3 separate regions of the Homo sapiens genome follow, and regions 2 and 3 are each linked to region 1. The links are contacts of gene promoters, found by promoter capture Hi-C in blood cells and fetal thymus (Javierre and others, 2016). All regions are on one chromosome and are shown on one strand. The core of a region is centred on a gene start or on the middle of the fragment in contact, and the rest is flanking DNA. Distances in the headings are between cores, read along the strand shown. Region 1 holds the start of NOP2 (NOP2 nucleolar protein). Region 2 overlaps CHD4 (chromodomain helicase DNA binding protein 4). Region 3 overlaps NCAPD2 (non-SMC condensin I complex subunit D2).

What was found. The method cuts DNA at HindIII sites, captures the fragments that hold promoters and counts their contacts. A CHiCAGO score of 5 or more calls a contact.
Region 2: a fragment that was not itself captured here is called in contact with the fragment with the promoter of NOP2 in region 1 in 16 of 17 cell types (activated CD4 T cells, erythroblasts, megakaryocytes and 13 more); the score reaches 26.5 in activated CD4 T cells.
Region 3: a contact is called between a fragment that was not itself captured here and the fragment with the promoter of NOP2 in region 1, in 7 of 17 cell types (erythroblasts, activated CD4 T cells, non-activated CD4 T cells and 4 more). The highest score is 9.9, in erythroblasts.

What each region holds. Positions count from the first base shown.
Region 1 is chr12:6,566,169-6,570,334 of GRCh38, forward strand. It overlaps NOP2 (NOP2 nucleolar protein), which reads right to left and starts at 2,123. Exons shown (of 16, transcript NM_001258308.2): 1 at 2,039-2,123; 2 at 1,648-1,754; 3 at 609-654; 4 at 361-449; 5 at 1-168. The coding sequence starts at 1,750. It overlaps CHD4-AS1 (CHD4 antisense RNA 1), which reads left to right and starts at 2,203. Exons shown (of 3, transcript NR_199067.1): 1 at 2,203-3,362. CHD4 (chromodomain helicase DNA binding protein 4) reads right to left here. Exons shown (of 40, transcript NM_001273.5): 40 at 3,914-4,166. RefSeq lists enhancers at 1,973-2,594, 2,418-2,467, 4,135-4,166. The HindIII fragment of the contact is 18,468 bases long and covers 1-4,166 here.
Region 2 is chr12:6,599,455-6,603,561 of GRCh38, forward strand. CHD4 (chromodomain helicase DNA binding protein 4) reads right to left here. Exons shown (of 40, transcript NM_001273.5): 3 at 2,922-3,043; 4 at 2,506-2,721; 5 at 2,194-2,312; 6 at 1,835-2,076; 7 at 1,472-1,599; 8 at 1,080-1,215; 9 at 763-941; 10 at 319-558. Among named protein-coding and RNA genes, the nearest start is that of CHD4, 5.9 kb to the right of the region's middle. The HindIII fragment of the contact is 915 bases long and covers 1,670-2,584 here.
Region 3 is chr12:6,519,232-6,523,577 of GRCh38, forward strand. NCAPD2 (non-SMC condensin I complex subunit D2) reads left to right here. Exons shown (of 32, transcript NM_014865.4): 14 at 1,755-1,879; 15 at 2,567-2,806; 16 at 3,597-3,771; 17 at 4,031-4,115. Among named protein-coding and RNA genes, the nearest start is that of GAPDH-DT, 13 kb to the right of the region's middle. The HindIII fragment of the contact is 7,418 bases long and covers 1-4,346 here.

The DNA of each region.
Region 1 (4,166 bases), core at 873-3,372:
CCTCGGAGCCCCAGAGGTCCCCGTGGTTCACCATACCATCTTCTTCAGAGTCTTCCTCCTCCTCTTCCTCATCACTGCCAGGTGCTGGGCGCTTCTTGCCTCGAGGAGCATTAAATAGGGACTGGGGTCCCTTCTTACCAGCTGTCTGGACAGCTCCTGCAGAGATCCCTAAGGGTTTGAAGAGTCCTGGACTAATGGCAGCCACACATTCCCTGGCCCCACACCCTGGGAGCCTGTACTTTCTACCCCTCAGAATGTCCTTTGGCTGTTCCTTTCACTCCGGAAATGTTTAGCGAGTTCTTCCCTACCCAGGACCCAAAGGGACTCCTCATGTAGCATCCAGCTCTTAGTTTCACGGACCTTTTGGTAGCTTTCCAGGCAATGGTTTGGCCTCAGGAGACTTATTTGTCTTAGGGGCTTCAACAGAGCCCAATCTCCTCTTGGCTGCCCTGAAAAGACACAAGAGATTCAAGGAGTGAAGAAATGGGAAGATACTTCCAGGCTCTGCCATTTCCACCATAGGGAAATGTGAGAGTCTAGAATTAACTCTGTGGTCAAAGATGAGCAGTACCAATTTAACCTACTTAAGTTTTGACACCCACACTTACCTCTTTCGAGCACGACTAGACAGCCTCTTGGAATTTTCGTCACTTACTGTTTAAAAAAGAAAAACGAGGCAGAACAAGTTACAGGGGACATTAAAAATAAATGGGAACGGAAATAAACATGGTAAGAGAATTAGTACACTAATTAAAAGGAGTCCATTTAAATCTCAGCCCTGTTATTATTTAATAACTGTATACAAGTTTCTTTTTTTTTTTTGAAATGGAGTTTCACTCTTGTCTTCCAGGCTGGAGTGCAATGGCGTGATCTCAACTCACTGCAACCTCCTTCTCCCAGATTCAAGCGATTCTATTGCCTCAGCCTCCCATCACCACACCCAGCTAATTGTTGTATTTTTAGTAAAGACAGGGTTTCACCATGTTGGCCAGGCTGGTCTCGAACACTGGACCTCAGGTGATCCACCTGCCTCGGCCTCCCAAAGTGTTTCCTTAATAGTGCCTCTCTCACAGGACTCTAAGATGATTAAGCGATATAACATGACCAACAAGTTTAATACAGTGCCCAGGACTTCCTACTATCTCAATAAACTGCATCCTTTATCCAATGCCCAACACAAACTCCCGGTCCAGTGTTACCTCCCACCAGTCTTCCACACAGTATACTACTACTCGGCATGAAGCAGCCAGATCCGTGCTTTTCCATTTCCACCCCTTCCAAAAGGCAAATCAGTGACTGACCCCTCCCCTTCACTACTTCCTCTTGCTACAATGTTACCCATTTTTCAAAACCCAGCTTAACAAAAACTTTTACAGTTCTGCATGGGCTCCCCCTTCCTCTGAACTCACAATTGTTTTAAATCACACTTTTCCCTTGCATGAATAATAGTTGTGTCCGTGTCTTCACATCTCTACGACCTAAACAGTTCCCTACAATCTAAACGGCTGTTTCATTCATACCTCCTAGTAACTCATACAGAGAAGATTCCACTTAAATATAAAATGAACAGAAACTAAAAAAGAGAAGAGGTTATAATACAGAATACTGCAAAAGCTGAGGGATCAGGAGGCCACAACTAATCCTTACCTGCAGGCAAGAATCTGACGAGTTCTGTCTCGGCACCCTTCTGCTTCCGGGCCTTTCGGCCTGGCCCCCGCTTCTCCTTCGTAGGGTCCAACTTGCGCCCCATGGTACTGTGGCAGGCAGAAATGGGAGAAGGTGGCGTCGCGCGTGTCGGAGGGAACGGCAGAACGCACGCTTGGCGTATTATAGTGGGAAAGGGCACAGCCTCAACTCAGCACCCGCAACTCACTCAGCACTCCCGACTCAGCACCCGCGACTCAAGCACCCCCGCTATCCCCCTGGAGGCCCGACCGAACGCCCTCCCACCTGAAACCCAGGTAGCGCACCCTTCTCCCCACGTCCCAGACCAGGTCAGTGCTGCCACTCTTCGTCCCCCAATTTCCTCTAGACCCACCAGAATGCGGGTTAATGTCCGAGAGTGCCCTTCGGGCGGCCCTCCACGTGCAATCCGGACCTAGCTTTCGGCCGGCACTCGCCACAGAATCGTTCCACGCAGGCGCACGGGTAGCGCTAGCCTCGCGGCCCCGCCTCTTCCTGTTGCGCCTAGTCGGCCGCCGCACCCGGAACTTACGCTCGCCCTGGGAACGCCAGCGGAGCCGGCGGCGGCGAGTAGGGGGCAATTCGAAGGAGACGCGCAGCTTACACCCGCGGCGGGTGGAGGGAGCAATGTGACGAAACCATTGAGCTTGACCGACCTTCCCTCATGGAGTTGGCTTTTAGCCTCACGGCCGGTTTCTGTTGGGTGAAAGCCGCACCTTCTCCTCGAACCAGGGCCCGACATTGGAGCCCTCTCCCTCGCATCCACTGCCCTAGTCCAGCGTCAAGATCACGGAATTCCAGGCTGGGCGCAGTGGCTCACGCCTGTAATCCCAGCACTTTGGGAGGCTGAGGTGGGTGGATCACTTGAGGTCAGGAGTTCGAGACCAGCCTGGCCAATATGGTGAAACCCTGCTTCTACTAAAAATACAAAATTAGCCGGGCGTGGTGGCGGGCGCCTATAATCCCAGCTACTCGAGAGGCTGAGGCAGAATTGCTTGAGCCCGGGAGGCGGAGGTTGCAGTAAGCCGAGATCGTGCCACTTAAGCCTCACCAAGAGCGAAACTCCACCTCAAAAAAAAAAAACAAAAAAACCAGCCGGGCTCGGTGGCTCACGCCTGTAATCCCAGCACTTTGGGAGGTCGAGGCGGGCGGATCACGAGGTCAAGAAATCCGAGACCATCTTGGCCAACCTTGTCTCTATTAAAAATACAAAAATTAGTTGGGCATGGTGGCTGGCGCACGCGTGTAGTCCCAGCTACTCGGGAGGCTGAGGCAGGAGAATCGCTTGAACCCGGGAGGGGGAGGTTGCAGTGAGCTGAGATCGCGCCACTGTACTCCAGCCTGGCAACAAAGCGAGACTCCATCTCAAAACAAACAAACAAAAAAAACCGTGGAATTCCATGCCACTTACCTCCTCCTCTTTGCCCCTTTTTTAAAAATCTTTTTATAGAGACGGGTTGTAGGGGGTGGCGTCTCACTATATTGCCAGGGCTGGTCTAGAACTCCTGGGCTTAAGCGATCCTCCTGCCCCCACCTTTGTGCTGAGATTACAGGCTGTGAGCCACCGTGCCCCGCCCTCCCAGCACCTTCCTTGATGCTGACCCCTGCTCAGCCCCTCAATTAAGGTGCTGCACTGCACCTCATTCGCAGGGGGCCTCTTCGCCGGAACTCGCTTTCAGGTGGGTCTACAATTAGTTGGGAAACAACGGGTTGCAAGGCTGACCTGGTCTGGGACATGAGAAGGGGTGAACTACAAGGGTTTCAAGGTTGGAGGACGTTAGGTCGGGCCTCCGGGGGTGTGGGATTGAGGCTGTGTTCTTCCACAAATTGCATCCCAATTTTGCACAACTTAGCAAGAAAACCCCCCTCAGCCTTCCTAGAAACTAACATTAAGGTAGTGGTTAGGTGTTAAAACCGTTCCATGTACTTCACTGGTTTAACTTGACAACCGTATGAGGTATACATGAGATATCTGCATCCCACCAAAGTTAAACAACTTGCTCAAGGTCACAGAGCCATTAAGCGGCGGTGCCCGCAGTTTTGCAGCCTCTCATTTTCCACAGGTGGAAGTCAACGTTGGCAAGGCACATACTGCACCCACACACAGAACCCAGTTACTCAGTGGGGTATCAGGACACCACGTAGCCCTTAATTTTCAACTATACAGGTGCCAGGCTCCTGCCGCACACACTCATCCACCTGCACCTACACCCACACTGAACCAGAGCACTAAAATACAAGGAAACTTTTATTTTCAATTTTCATCAAGAAATTTGCTGTGGTTTTTTATGCTTTTGGTTTTTTCCTTTTTTTTTTTTTCCACTTTATTTCATTTAGCCGCTCAGTGGCTAGAGCCGCTGGGTTCCTGGTATTAAAAAGATGCCAACAGAGGTAGCTGTGTCTCGCCCAGGGGCCCAGCCCACTCTGAATACCCCCCAAAAAGGAGAAAAGAAAACACAAAATAAACCAACAAAATAAAACCA
Region 2 (4,107 bases), core at 877-3,376, 33 kb after region 1:
TTTTAACAAAAAAATTGAAAACATTGTAAGCTACCAAGACCCTGAGGCAGGGTGTCAACACAGGGACAAATGTTCTCAGCTAGAAGAACATTGCTTCATCTCCTCTTAAGAGAGCTGGCAAAACATCAACTCCTCAGTTTGAAGTTAGTCCTATATTTTCCCAGGACAAAAGTATCCCAACACTATAGGATGAAGGAGAATACCTTTCTCAGGGCTGAAAAGCTCATAGTTCCTCTCCTGCACCCCAGCCTCACAATAGCCTACATAGAAAAGACTACACTTTCCCATTTTTTGCCCCGGCTGAGATCAGTCACTCACCGTACAACGGGGACAGAGCCATTCACCGTTGGGGATCTCTGGAAGTGGGGGATTCAGGCAGTGGATGTGGTAGGAAGAAGGACAGGTATCACAGCAGAGCAGTTCCCCACCATCCTTGCAGACCCGACAGAATTCCATATGGTGGTCATCCTCCTCTTCGAGGTCTCCCCCAACCTCTTCCAGGATCTCCTCACCCTCCGAATTGTCCTCTTTAGCTTCCCACTGGATGCCTTCCTTCTCCTGCAGTAAAGGACCACAGATTCAGATTATTACCCCCACCCGCCCACCGCAGTCTGAAGCCAGTGCCCATCATTCCTTTGAATGCTTCCCAAAGCTCACAACCCGCAGCACCAGCATTTCCATTTCCATCCAGGCCCCGAAGAGCTTTACTGTCCCACCCTTCTTCTCATGGGTTCCAAGGGGCCACAATGGCCAGACACTCACGCAGTGTGGGCAGCTCCACTTGCCCTCGGGAGCCTTCTCCATGTCGGGATCCAGGCAGACCATGTGGTAAGCACGGGGACAGGTATCACACAGGATGATCTCACCGCCTTGCTGGCACACCTCGCAATAGTCCTGGTGGTCTGTCTCATAACCATCCACAGCAGTCACCTCCTCCTCGCCTGGGCAAGGAAGAGGGAAAGCCCAGTTATTGGAAAAAAACTACCTCCCCCCACCCCCCGACCCCTATCTCCTTAGGGAGATTCTTCCCCAATCACTCCCACCTCATCCCATCACAAATATACAGAAGAGAAACACACCTTTCTTTTTCTTTTTAGTGGTTCGGAGTTTCTTGCGGCTGCGGCTACTACGGCTGGTGGAACCATCAGAAACAGAATAGCTATTGATACTGGCATCATCGAAGTCAGATTCCACATCTAAGTCATCATCCTCACTCTGGCAGGATGAAAAAGAATAAGGTTAGACGTTCAAGCCAAGGGGAAGGACAGAGTGGCAGAGAGGGGAGTACTCTCTCACTGGGGACACCAGAATCCCAGCAAGCACCGTTATACAGGGAGCCTAGTCTCATCTTGTTCTGTGGGAAACGCCCCACATTCTTACGTGCCTACTATGAAGGACAGGTTCTGATAGAAGGTCACATCCTTTCTATTAGACATGGCACCCTCCCTAAAGCGATGGGCTGGGCTCTCACCGAGGATCTCTTACGCTTGGAACCAAAACCTCCCAGCTTGATTTTCAGGGGAGCTACTTTCTTGGGTTTAGGCTTCTTGGCATCAGGTACACGAGGGCTGCCCTTGGGCTTCCTCCGAGCATTGGGACCTAAAATCAGGATATATCCAAATATATACCACAAGACCAAAGATGGGGAAAATAAAATCTTCTCCACCTAAGCTTGCTTCCCCACATTCAGATTCCCAAATTTCCCTCCAAAATCCAAGACTCATTCCTCCCTCCTATCTCCTACCTTAGGGCTGACAGACCAGCATTCCCATGCTGTCTTTGACATCTTAAGCCCACACTAGACACCCCCACTCCCATTTGAACCCCATTTCACCTTTGCCCTCCTTGGTCTTGGCCTTGCGGATAGGCACCTCCACAGGGGGAGGTGGTGGTGCAACCTCAGTGGCTGTCACCATGCTCTCCACCACAGCTACCGCTGCTGCTGCCGCAGCTGCCACTGATGCCCCAGAACTGCCTTTGAAGGGGTTATTGGTACTGAACTCCCGCCATTTTGCACCCAAAACCATCATCATCTTGGAGACAGCAATCTTGGGATTTTTGGCAGCAATGAGGGGTCTGGTGGAGAAATGCACAAGAGCAGAGGGAAAGGTTTAAGAATAAAAAAAGAAAGAGAAGTAAGAAGAGAGAACAGAAAGATTCTCCTCCCCCTTCCCCAAACCCCTTCTGTTTTACCTGACAAACTGGCTGAAGGCCTTGTAGTTGGTGAGGGTTCGATAATCCTCCTCTGAGAACACGTGGTCAATGTCTTCCATGCCCCAGTCTTCCAGGAGCTGAGCAGATGATTTAGGCTCCTGCAGAAAGAGCAAAGTCAAGTAAGTACCTGCCACCTAGTGCCCACACTTGCTAAGCAAATTTGTGTGGAAAAATCAGAGTAACAGAGTTAAGAGGAAAAGAAGAGAAAGTGTTCTAAAGGGCAGTAAGGTGTCTAGGAAACAAAAAGACAAAAGTTTAACAGTACAAAGAAGAGGATGGAGGTCCAGGCACCTTTGAATCATCATCATCATCCTCCTCCTCCTCCTCCTCCTTCCGCTTGGATTTGCTCTTCTTCTCTTTCTTAGGTCCAAGCTTCTTCTTCTTCTTCTTGCCAGGAGTATAGTCGCTGCCCTCACTGTCTGAGCGCAGAGCCACCTCTTCCTCCTCCTCCACAAACTCTGGCCCCTCCCCAGAGCTGTCCCCCAGCTGCCGGCATAAGAGCATACGCTGGAGCAGGGCAAGGGGGGAAGAGGGAGACAGACACACACATGCTACACACATGCTGACCTCAGGACAGCCCTGAGGCTCATCCCCAGAACATGGCCCACCACTTCTGAGAAAGAAACAAATGCCCTCAGCCCTTCAACCCTTCTCAGAGCTCCTCCCTTCTTCCTCTGATTCCCCGTAACATTCAGTCACCCACTCACCTCCTTTTTTTGGCGCTTGCTCTTAGGGATTTTAGGGTCCCGAGGTTTCTTAGGCTTTTTCTTCTTCTTGAGCTTTGGAGTCTCTGTTTCTGACAAATCCTCTTCTGGGTCCTCTTCATTTTCTACATATATTTGGCAAAGAGTGGTAGGCAGGGAAAAGATCAATAGCAAAAGGTTAGGCCCTAATCCAGAGGCTTTAGACTTTATTCCCCACCTCTTGTCCCAGATTCCTCTGAAGAGAACTGCTATACTCTGTACAGGAGGAAGCTGATACCCAGGACAAAAACAGACAAAGAGAGAGCTGTATATACCCGAAATAGGCCTGCCAGGCCAGACCAGGCCCACCTCGGGCAGCTGTCCAGACCCCTGCCTCCTCTCTCCCGTTCCTACCAGTCCTCTAGATGTTCACCAGTACAGCTGAACTGAGCTGCTCAGAGTTCACCAAGTAAGAGAACTAGATTTAGGCCTCCTGTAACTGGCCACCAAGTTATTCTATAAACCAGGGAATGAGAATGAAAGATCCTACTCAGAAGGCAAAAACTATAGAATATACCTTCCCAGAACAGGATCAGTTCAGGGGTCTCGGAAACCACACCCTTCTCTAACCACTTTGAAGTCATCACTGCTCAAATTAACCAGAACCTCCAAGTCCTAGGTTCAGGTGCCAGCTCAATCTCATGCCCACTTCTAAAATACAATTTCCTTTCCCCATCTCCAACCCTAATGTTCCTCCTCAGCTTCTCCTGGGTCAGCAGCCTCTTCTCCCTAGGGGCCCGAATCAGCCCAGCTGTCACCATCTCCCCTACACCCGCCCCCCAGCAAGCCTCCTCCCATCTGGCTCCACCTCCTCCCCTGGCTGGAGGCACACACAAAGCCTGGGTAAGACTGAAAGCTCCTGGGCAAGGATAGGTGGGAAGGGACACAGAGAAGACCAGGAGGCAGCTTCCTTTGTAACAGACATTCACACTGGCTCCGACTCCCTCCTCCCTCCTCTCTCCCTCTTCCCAAGCCACCCCCGCCCAAAGGGGGGTGGGTAGAGAAAGGAGTGGAGAGAAGAAGGGAGTGCCTCACCCACTGAGGAGAGGGAAAATGGCTCCTGACCGCAGAAGCCAGCCCAGGGCACCCAGCTGCCAACATAGGACAGACAGGAAGTGGCAGGGGAGGGGGTGGGTTTGAGAGAGGTGGG
Region 3 (4,346 bases), core at 7-2,506, 48 kb before region 1:
TGACTCCCTTATGTTACTTTAGTGTCTCTCTTTTTATTTTGCTAAAGCAAAAATAGAGACTATAGTTTTATAAGTGCATGTTCCACCAAGCATTCTAGTATTTTCTCCTGTCAATTAGAAAAGGATTGTTTGTTTTTGAGACAGAATCTCACTGTTGCCCAGGCTGGAGTACAGTAGCGCAATCACAGCTCACTGCAGCCTCTCACTGTAGCCTCAACCCTGCTGGGCTCAAGCGATCTCCCACATTAGCCTCCTGAGTAGCCTGGTTAATTTATTTATAATTTGTAGCTGGGATTACAGGTACACACCACCAGGCCTGGCCTTTGCCAGCCTGGGCAACGTGGCAAGAAGATAACATGTAGACAAGCAGTCAAACATGTATTCTTTTTTTCCCCCTTTTATATGACTGATAGAATTCTCTGCCCACTGATCTACCATCTTGTTTTTTTCACTTAACTATGTGTCTCAGTGGTTTTTAAAAATATTTATGGCTGGGTGCAATGGCTCATGCCTGTAATCCCAGCTACTTGGGAGGCTGAGGCAGGAGAATTGCTTGAACCCAGGAAGCAGAGGTTGCAGTGAGCTGAGATTGCTCCGCTACACTCTACCCTGGGTGACAGAGGAAGAGTCCATCTCAAAAAAAAAAAAAAATTTATAGATGGCCAGGTGCAGTGGCTCACACCTGTAATCCCAGCACCTTGGGAGCCCAAAGCTGGTGGATCTCTTGAGGCCAGGAGTTTGAGGCCAGCCTGGCCAACGTGGCGAAATGGCGAAACCCATCTCTGCTAAAATTACAAAAATTGGCCAGGTATGGTGGCACGTACCTGTAATCCTAGCTATTTGGGGAGCTGAGGCATGAGAATCACTCAAACCTAGGAAGCAGAGGTTATAGTGAGCCAAGATCATGCCACTACACTTCAGCCTGGGTGACAGAACAAGACTCTGTCTCTAAAAAAAAAAATATATATATATATATACACATATATATTTATACATAAATAGTTTCCCACTCTCCTCTTTTTTTGAGAGAGAGAGTGTCTCACTCTTTTGCCCATGCTGGAGTACAGTGGTATGATCACAACTCACTGCAGCTTTGATCTCCCAGGCTCAAGTGATCCTCCCACCTCAGCTCCCTCGAGTAGCTGAGACCACAGGCACACACCATTACACCCACAGGCACACACCATCACACCCACAGGCACACACCATCACACCCACAGGCATACACCATCACACCCACAGGCACACACCATCACACCCGGCTAACTTTTTTTACTTTTTGTATAGTTGGGTCTCCCTGTGTTGCCCAGACTGATCTCAAATTCCTGGGCTCACGTGTCCCCATTATTTTTTATGACTACATAGAATCTTATTGTCTGGATGTGCCTGAATTAACTAATTATTGAAAGTTTATTGTTTCTAAACTTAGGAAAGTTTTTAAACAGGTGTTTGGAGTAGGTTTATGATTTTAAAACTTTAAAAAGCCTTATTGGAGTTTTTTTGAAGACTGTAGTAATGCCTTGTAGGTTCAGAAATAGGAAAAGTGTTTGCAGATGAGCAGTCAGGGGAAAAAAATAGGCAAAGTGTTTTGAGCCCTACCCCTTAGTAGGTGCTGTAACAACTTTTTAAGCATGTTAAGTGCTCCTTTTCTCTGGGCAGTAGGTCCAGGGACTTGATAGAATCATGAGGTAAGCTCCCTTACAAACGGCTGCAGTGACATTCTTCTGGGTACTGACAGGCTGGTGTTCTTTCAGAAAGGCCATCATTCTCACTCGAGAAGCCACAGGCCACTTCCAGGAGTCCGAACCCTTCAGTCATATAGACCCAGAGGAGTCAGAGGAGACCAGGCTCTTGAATATCTTAGGACTTATCTTCAAAGGTAATCATTTTCCTTCTTCAGTCAATAAATAACACATGTCAACTGGTATTTACTGAGCATTAACTTTATGCCATCATTGGCCTGGTTAACAGAACCTGGTGCTGAAGAGCCCAGAGATGAATTGGCATTACTTTTGCTCTGGAATGGAAGCAGCCCACGGGCCTAAGATTGATAGTCACAGGGTGACTGTCCAGACCATAGCGGTCTTTAGGTATGGTTTTTGAGAAATTTAGATATTTTAGAGTAAGTTTTAATTTCATATCTTCACATTGTGAAAAGAGATATCCAGGGCCAGATGTCGTGGCTTATGCCTGTAATCCTAACACTTTGGGAGGCCAAGGCAGGAGGATTGCTTGAGCCCAGGAGTTGAAAATCAGCCTGAGCAACATGACGAAACCCCCATCTCTACAAGGGATACCAAAAAAAAATTAGCCAGGTGCGGTGGCACGCACCTGTAGTCCCAACTGCTCAGGAGCTGAAGTGAGAGAATCACCTTAGCCCGGGGAAGTTGAGGCTGCAGTGAGCGGTGATCATTGCCACTGCACAGCCTAGGCAACAGAGTGAGACCCCATCTCAAAAGAAAAGAAGAAGGAAAATAAATAAGTAAATATCCAGGAATGTTGACAGCTGTTGGATTCCCCTGTATCCCCTTGAACGAAACCATCCTGTACTTCTCTAACTCCTTAGGCCCAGCAGCTTCCACACAAGAAAAGAATCCCCGGGAGTCTACAGGAAACATGGTCACAGGACAGACTGTCTGTAAAAATAAACCCAATATGTCGGATCCTGAGGAATCCAGGGGAAATGATGAACTAGTGAAGCAGGAGATGCTGGTACAGTATCTGCAGGATGCCTACAGCTTCTCCCGGAAGATTACAGAGGCCATTGGCATCATCAGCAAGATGATGTATGAAAACACAACTACAGGTATGCCAGAGTCCCTTTCTATAAGGACAGCCTTGGGGTTCTTTTGGATTTTTTAATTTTTTAAATTTTTATTAACAATAGAGATGGGGCCTTCCTTTGTTGCTCAGGCTGGTCTCCAACTCCTGGGCTCAGGCAATTCTTCTGCGTCAGCCTCCCAAAGTGCTGGTATTACAGGTGTGAGCCACTGCACCCGGCCATGGATCTTGGAGTTCTTTTCCATATTTTATTGATATATCTATCTGCTCCTTTAAAAGGCAGGGGTTCTCGGCTGGGCGCGATGGCTCATGCCTGTAATCCCTACAAAACTGGGAGGCCAAAGCAGGAAGACAGGTTGAGGCCAGGAGTTCGAGAGCAGCCTGGGCAACATAGCAAGACCCCATCTCTACAAAGAAACAAAAACTAACTGGGCGTGATGGCACGCACCTGTAGTTCCAGCTACTCGGAAGGCTGGGCAGGAGGATTGCTTGAGCCCGGGAGTTTGAGGCTACAGTGAGCTGTGGTCATGCCACTGCACTCTAGCCGGAGCAACAGAATAAGAACCTGTGTCTTAAGAAAAGAAAAAAAAAAGGCAGGGGTTCTTTTTTTCTGTTTGCTTCCTCTAGCCACTTACAGCTTATACATTTTAATGCATATAGTATTTCATGATAAGGCATCATAGGAGGAGTCGACATTCTCAGGGAAAATGCGGAAGGCCTCCATTTGCATCTTGCTACATTCAGAAAGGTTCTGTCGTTAGGTATTGGGGGAGTTTTGTGAAGTAGATAGGTGACATTTGTACATGTTCTCTCAGTGGTGCAGGAGGTGATTGAATTCTTTGTGATGGTCTTCCAATTTGGGGTACCCCAGGCCCTGTTTGGGGTGCGCCGTATGCTGCCTCTCATCTGGTCTAAGGAGCCTGGTGTCCGGGAAGCCGTGCTTAATGCCTACCGCCAACTCTACCTCAACCCCAAAGGGGACTCTGCCAGGTATATGGGGTGCTTTTGCCTTTGCTGACTTTTCCAAGGTCAGCTTCTCACAGGACTTCCCTTGTCTCCTAAAGGAAGAGGTGCATTTCTCCAGGGGAGTTCCAGATCCATAGGCAGTCCATCATAGTGGGGCTTAGGGTGGGGCTCGGTTTCCAGGGAGAGCAGTTTTGTAGCACTGTGGTGGGATAGCCCTAATCACTGTTTGCCAAGTTCAGCTTCCCAATCTTATAGTGACCGCTGATCTCTGCTGTTCCCACAGAGCCAAGGCCCAGGCTTTGATTCAGAATCTCTCTCTGCTGCTAGTGGATGCCTCGGTTGGGACCATTCAGTGTCTTGAGGAAATTGTAAGGCTTCCTGCTTTCTCTTTCTTTATTCATTCAACAAGTATTTTGGTTGTTTTTTTTTTTTTTTTTGAGACGGAGTCATGCCCCATTGCCCAGGCTGGAGTGCAATGGCACAATCTTGGCTCACTGCAACCTCCGCCTCCCAGGTTCAAGCAATTCTCCTGCCTCAGCCTCCCGAGTAACTGGAATTACATGCATGTGCCACCATGCCCGACTAGTTTTTTGTATCTT